2 separate regions of the Homo sapiens genome follow, and region 1 is linked to region 2. Evidence: promoter capture Hi-C in 16 types of primary human blood cells and fetal thymus (Javierre and others, 2016). All regions are on one chromosome and are shown on one strand. Each heading gives the region's core, a stretch centred on a gene start or on the middle of the fragment in contact. The rest is flanking DNA. Distances are from core to core; before and after follow the strand shown.

Region 1 (3,299 bases), core at 671-3,170, 210 kb after region 2:
CCAGGAGTTCAAGGTTGCAATGAGCTATATCATGCCATTGCACTCCAGCCTGGGTGACAGAGACCCTATCTCAAAAAAAAAAAAAAAAAAAAGAGGGCATGGTGTGGTTGCTCATGCCTATAATCCCAGCACTTTGGGAGGCCAAGGTGGGCATATCATTTAAGGTCAGGAGTTACGAGACCAGCCTGGCCAACATGGTGAAACTCCATCTCTACTAAAAATACAAAAATTAGCTGGGTGTGGTGGCGGGTGCCTGTAGTTCCAGCTACTCAGGAGGCTGAGGCAGGAGAATCACTTCAACCTGGGAGGTGGAGGGTGCAGTGAGCTGAGATCAGGCCACTGCACTCCAGACTGGGCAACAGAGCGAGACTCCGTCTCAAAAAATAAAAAAGACCCTGGAGGGTGGTGTCAAAGGAAACGGAGAGGCCAGAAAGAGCAGGTGCCATGTATCCAAGGAGGACAAGGGACCCACAAGGCCTGGGGACTTGAGATATGCAGAGAGCTTGGCCAGGCCCTTCACACATCTAATTCAACTCTGTGGGACAGATATTGGCATCCCCAAAGATGAAGCCACTGCGCTATTCCTCTGGGTGCACCTTAGGTTAATGAGAATGCAGGAGAGGGCGTCTCTTTGCAGGGAAGGACATCCCTTGTGCTCGCTCTCAGGAGTGCACAAAGGTCCTCATCAGATCAGAAACCCGAGGGAGAATGGAGTGTCAGGCGCAGAAGATACCTGCCCGGGAGCCAAACTGCCCCCTCTGAGGCCAGCAAAGCAGCTGGCCACCCACCAAGCCACCAGCCCAGGAGTGTGAAGCCTTGAGAAAGGGAATGGCAGACACCACCCCTGCCAAAAGTGGGCGATAGGCGTTAAGGATGACAGACGTGTCCTCATACGAGGAAGCAATGGATTCAGCATTTGAAGTCAGGTTTATTTTTAAGTTCATGCTGCCTCCGTTAAGAAGCAAGAGACTCCGGTGGTTTCTGGTGTGTGCCCTCGGGCAAATCACTTCCTCTCTGAGGTAAGATGCAAAGGCCTGTGCTCCTAGGAGTTGGCATATCACTCCTCAGATGGGAACAGTCCTTATTTGAGGATTTTATGTGTGTGAGAGACAGGGTCTAGCTCTGTTGCCCAGGGGCTGGAGTGCAGTGGTGACATCACTGGTGGTCCAGCGCAGCCTCGACCTCCCAGTCTCAAGTGATCCTCCCGCCTGAGCCTCCTGGGCACCTGGGCCCACAGGTGCCACGATGTTTGGCTAATTTTTAAATATTTCGTAGGGACGGATCCCCATGTTGCCCAGGCTGTCTCGAAAGCCTGGGCTCAAGCCATCCTCCTCTCTCGGACTTTCCGAAAGTGTTGGGATTACAGGAGGATTACAGGCATGAACCACCGTGCCTGGCAGAGGATTTTTTTTTTTTTGAGACGGAGTTTCACTCTTGTTGCTTGTTGCCCAGGCTGAAGAGCAATGGCAATGGCGCGATCTCGGCTCACTGCAACCTCTACTTCCCAGGTTCAAGTGATTCTCCTGCCTCAGGCTCCCGAGTAGCTGGGATTACAGGCGCACGCCACCACGCCCTTTGTATTTTTGGTAGAGACGGGGTTTCTCCATGTTGGTCAGGCTGGTCTCGAACTCCTGATCCGCCCGCCTAGGACTCACAAAGTGCTGGGATTACAGGCGCGAGTCGGATTTCTTTATTAAAGGTTGACCTTCATCAACCTCCATTGGCTCCACCTCCTCCGCCCGCGCCCCGCGCCCCGCACAAAAATGGCGAAGTCGGTGCTGGGCGACTCTGCCTCCGCGCCAGGGGTGGAGAACCGAAGCCCCGCCCCGGGAAACGCGGCCCCGCGGCCGGCTAGTGCTGACGCGTGTCGGCGCTCCTGCGCCTGCGCGGAGGGAGCCGCGAGACAGGTGCGCATGCGCAGTGCGCGTCTGCGAGACCGACTTGGACGGAGCCGAGCTGAGGCTCGGCTTCCTGCTGATGGTCAGGGTTTTGGCAACTCCCCGGTGTGAGAGGGGTAGGGAGTGCTCCCGGCGGCGACGGGGCCGAGTTCACCAGCCGCCGGGGCAGTAGTCGAAGGCCCGGCGCGGCATGTCCTGGGTGCCGCGGTGCGGGCAGTGAACGCGCGCCGGGCGGGATGGGCCGGCGCCGGGCGCCAGAGCTGTACCGGGCTCCGTTCCCGTTGTACGCGCTTCAGGTCGACCCCAGCACTGGGCTGCTCATCGCTGCGGGCGGAGGAGGCGCCGCCAAGACAGGCATAAAGAATGGCGTGGTGAGAGCGCAGGGCCACTGGGGCTGGGTCTTGCTGCGGGCTGGCGGCGATTCCAGGGTGGCCGGGGGGTCGCGGGGCGGGCCACACTCCAGCTTCGGGCCCTGCCCACTTCTGTTGGGAAGACCCGCTTGCCTGACGCCCAGGGGCGAATTTCAGTCGAGAACTCAGCGGGCGGAGGAGAGGCTTTTAAGGTAAAGTGAAAACTGCACACAGCTGCAGAGTCGCCAGGAACGCTTCAGCTCCGCCTCAGAGCAGCTCCAGGGGTCTTATACTGGCCTTTTCCGGGAGGTCTTGCCTGCCCTCTAGCAGCGGCGAGAGTGGTGCATTTGGGTTTAGGCTAAGTTCCTTCCCTCTCCTGAGCTTCACCCTGTTCTGTAAAATAGAGGTAATAATCCCAGTCCTGCTCACTGTGTAGATTTGTGAGGCCCAAATGAGAGAAAAAAGACTCGAGAAACCCTTGTGAACTAGAACGTGCAGAAAGCAAAGGGGTAAGACATCAGACTCTTCCCTAAACGTGCTCTCTGGGCACCCCTGAACTTGCTCATCCGGGTTCCCCCTCCCACAGCACTTTCTGCAGCTAGAGCTGATTAATGGGCGCTTGAGTGCCTCCTTGCTGCACTCCCATGACACAGAGACACGGGCCACCATGAACTTGGCACTGGCTGGTGACATCCTTGCTGCAGGGCAGGATGCCCACTGTCAGCTCCTGCGCTTCCAGGCACATCAACAGCAGGGCAACAAGGCAGAGAAGGCCGGTGAGGAGCTCCCTCTCTACCCCCTTGGGGAAAGGGTTGAACGAGTAAGGTCACTCTTGGTGTCTCTAAAGAAGTGGGTCTGGAAGTAGGGTTTTGGTAGCAAGCTAGAAGTTGTATGGGCACCTGCCATGGAGAGAGGGGCCAGTACTCCTTACTGTAGAAGCCTGGAACCTGGCCAAGTGTTTGTGTTACAGGTTCCAAGGAGCAGGGGCCTCGACAAAGGAAGGGAGCAGCCCCAGCAGAGAAGAAATGTGGAGCGGAAACCCAGCACGAGG
Region 2 (3,757 bases), core at 1,258-3,757:
TGTCAGGGCTTCTTATTTATCACAGGAATAATATAGATGGATTTTCACTGACCTTTATTTACCTTGGCAGTGTTATAATGTATCTTTAGCACATGTGTTTTCTTGTATCCTCAGCACCTGCCTCAGAGGGTTGGCCATTGCTATAGTTTATAATCTGGTTAGACTGTAGCTTCTTCAAGTGAGACAGTTGGAAGCTTTTATTTTATATTTCTTATGGGATTTGTATAAGCACACTTTTCCACTGAGACTGATGAATTGTTTATTCTTAAGGCGTATATATAGATCTGTGGGGGGCGGGGTCCCATCCTGGGATTTGAACTATGTCTGCCCCTTTGTCACAGACAGGCAGGTTATTCTGGCCAAAAACTGGACCCTTGGAGAGTTCTGTGTTGCTTAGGTTTCGGGTTTGGTGGTCAGTGATTTATCTTAGTTTACTTTGGCCCATGGTTATACAACTAATTTTTTGGGGTTTGAAGAAAATGAAGACTCATGACAATTTAGTCAATTCTTCAATGTGGAAAGGTTTCTTGGCCAGACATGGTGGCTTACACCTGTAATCCCAGCACTTTGGGAGGCCAAGGTGGGAGGATCTCTTGAGGTTAGGAATTCAAGACAAGCCTGGGCAAAATAGCAAGACCCAATCTGCACAAAAAAATTAAAAACGTATCTGGGCGTATTGGTGCACATTTGAAGTCTTGGCTATTTGGGAAGCTGGGGAGGGAGGACTGTTTGAACCCAGGAGTTAGTGGCTGCAGTGAGCTGTGATCACACCACCACATTCTAGTCTGGGTGACAGAGCGAGATCCTGACTCAGAAAAAAAAAATTTTTTTTAATTTTTAAAAATTAAAAAAGGCAAGGCATAGTGGTTTATGCCTGTAATCCCAGCATTTTGGGAGACGAAGTTGAGAGAATTGCTTGAGTCCAGGAGTTTGAGTATGTAATCACGCCACTGCACTCCAGCCTGGGCAACATGGTGAAACTTAGTCTCTACAAAAAATACAAAAATTAGTCAGGCATGGTGGTGCATGCCTGTAGTCCCAACTACTCAGGCGGCTGAGGTGGGAGGATCACTTGAGCCTGGGAGGTCCAGGCTGCAGTGAGCTGTGATTGCACCATTGCACTCCAGCCTGGGTTACAGAATGAGACTCTGTCTCAAAAAAAAAAAAAAAAAAAAAAAAAAAAAAAAAAAAAAAGGTATCAGAATGGGCACGGTGGCTAACACCTATAATCCCAACATTTTGGGAGACCGAGGTGGAAAGATTGCTTGAGCCCAGGAATTCAAGACCATCCTGGGCAACGTAGTGAGACCTCATCTCTACAAAAAATTTAAAAATTAGCCAGGCATGGTGATACATGCCTATAGTCCTAGCTACTTGGGAGGCTGAGGCAGGAGGATTGCTTGAGCTCTGGAGGACAAGGCTGCAGTGAGCTGTGATCACACCACTGCACCACTCCAGTCTGGGTGATAGAACAAGAGCGTGTCTCAAAAAAAAAAAAAAAAAAAAAAGTGGCGGGGCACAGTGGCTCAAGTCTGTAATCCTAGCACTTTGCGGGGCCAAGGTGGGCAGATCACCTGAGGTCAGGAGTCCAAGACCAGCCTGGTCAACATGGTGAAACCCCATCTCTACTAAAAATACAAAAATTTAGCTGGGTGTGGTGGCGGGCACCTGTTGTCCCAGCTACTCGGAAGGCCGAGGCAGGAGAATTGCTTGAACCTGGGAGGCAGAGGTTGCAGTGAGCCGACATCACGCCACTGCACTCCAGCCTGGGCAACGATAGTGAAACTCCATCTCAAAAAAAAAAAAAAAGGAAAAGCTTTCTTAACATAATAGGATGTTCCTTAATTGTCCCATAGTCTACCCACCACCCCCATCCAGGTGAAATATTGATAGCAGGGCACCAGAGAACTCTTTGACTCATTCTTTTTTTTAAAGACAGAGTCTCACTCTGTCACCCAGGCTGGAGTACGGTGGCATGATCTCGGCTCGCTGCAACCTCCACCCCACGGGTTCAATTGATTCTCTTGCCTCCGCCTCCTGAGTAGCTGGGATTACAGGCGCCTGCCACCATGCCCAGCTAATTTTTGTATTTTTAGTGGAGATGGGGTTTCACCATGTTGGCCAGGCTGGTCTCGAACTCCTGACCTCAGGCAATACGCCTGCCTCAGCCTTTCAAAGTGCTGGGATTACAGGTGTGAGCCACCGTGCCTGGCCAACTCATTCTTTTTAAAAAATAAATTCATTTATTTATTTACTTGAGACGGTGTTGCTTTGTTGCCCAGGCTGGAGTGCAGTGGTGTGATTACAGCTCACTGCAGCCTCGACCTCCTGGGCTCAAGGAGCCTCCCAAGTCTTCAGCCTCCCAAGTAGCTGAGACTACAGGTGTGCACCACCATGTTTTTTTGTAGCAAAGGAGTCTCACTCTGTTGCCCAGGATGGTCTTGAATTCCTGGACTCAAGCCATCCTTCTGCCTTGTCCTCTCAAAGTGCTGGAATTACAGGCATGAGCTATCGTGCCTGGCCAGAAAATTATTTTTAAATGTTTTTATTTAAAATACCATACCCAGGCTGGAGTATGGTAACACCATCATAGCTCACTGTAACCTCGAACTCCTAGGCTCAAGCAATCCTCCTGTCTCAGCCTTCCAAGTAGCTGGGACTACAGGTGCGCACCACCATGCCCGGCTAACTTTTAAAATTTTTTGTAGAGATGAGGTCTCCCTATGTTGCCCAGACTGGTCTTGAACTCCTGGCCTCAAGCAGTCCTTCTTCCTTGGCCTCTCAAAGTGTTGGAATTACAGGCATGAGCCATCCTGCCTGGCCTTTTACTTATTCTTAAATAAACTTATTCCTTGACTAATCTTTACAGAAAGAGATGTTAACATTAAGTATGCCTCTTCACTTTGGTCTAAATTTTGTAGTATCTGGCAGCTCTTTTTTGTAGTATATTTTGAGGAAGTTGGTGTCCCTTTCCTAGATTCATGCTAGACAAATTTTTCTCTCTCTTCTTTTTTGGAGTGTGTGTATGTCTGTGTGTGTGTGTTTTATTTCATTGGGTTTCAGAGACAGAGGTTAAATAATTGTGCATTCACTGCTTCATCCTTACAAGAAAATATATGAGCTTTAAATTAGATAATGTATGTATAGCACTTAGTATAGTGCTTGGCACATAGTTAGCATTTAATAAATGGAAGCTTTATGGCCAGGCGCAGTGACTCATTATCTGTAATCCCAGCACTTTGGGAGGTTGAGGCGGGTGGATCACCTGAAGTCAGGAGTTTGAGACCAGCCTGGCCCACATGGTGAAACCTCATCTCTATTAAAAATACAAAAATTAGCTGGGCGTGGTGGTGCGCACCTTGATCCCAGCTACTCAGGAGGCTGAGGCAGGAGAATTGCTTGAACCCAGGAGGTGGAGGTTGTAGTGAGCTGAGATTGCCCCATTACACTCCAGCCTGGGCAACGAGAGTGAAACTCCGTCTTTAAAAAAAAAAAAAAATGGAAGCTTTATTTGTTTACTTGTTTATTGTCTGCTTCACCAAAATGTAAGTTCCATGAGGGCAGGGACCTTGTCTGTCTTGTTTATTGTCATATCACCAGTTTCCTTTTTTGTTTTTAATTTTTTTATTTTATTTTATTTTGCTAGAGAAGGGGTCTTGCTGTGTTGCCCAGGCTAGCCTCAAACTCCTAAGCTCAAGCTGCCTTCCTGCCTCAGCCTCCCTAAGTGCTGGGATTACAGGTGTGAGCCACCGCACCT

Evidence for each region. The method cuts DNA at HindIII sites, captures the fragments that hold promoters and counts their contacts. A CHiCAGO score of 5 or more calls a contact.
Region 1: the fragment with the promoter of PREB here is called in contact with a fragment that was not itself captured in region 2 in 1 of 17 cell types (naive B cells); the score reaches 6.0 in naive B cells.

The regions. Positions count from the first base shown.
Region 1 is chr2:27,133,257-27,136,555 of GRCh38, reverse strand. PREB (prolactin regulatory element binding) reads left to right here and starts at 1,920. Exons shown (of 9, transcript NM_013388.6): 1 at 1,920-2,269; 2 at 2,835-3,024; 3 at 3,219-3,299. The coding sequence starts at 2,135. RefSeq lists enhancers at 1,982-2,031, 1,507-2,163 and a silencer at 2,102-2,201. The HindIII fragment of the contact is 5,539 bases long and covers 1-3,299 here.
Region 2 is chr2:27,343,768-27,347,524 of GRCh38, reverse strand. All of the region lies in intron 1 of GTF3C2 (general transcription factor IIIC subunit 2), which reads left to right. Among named protein-coding and RNA genes, the nearest start is that of GTF3C2-AS1, 10 kb to the right of the region's middle. The HindIII fragment of the contact is 1,378 bases long and covers 1,819-3,196 here.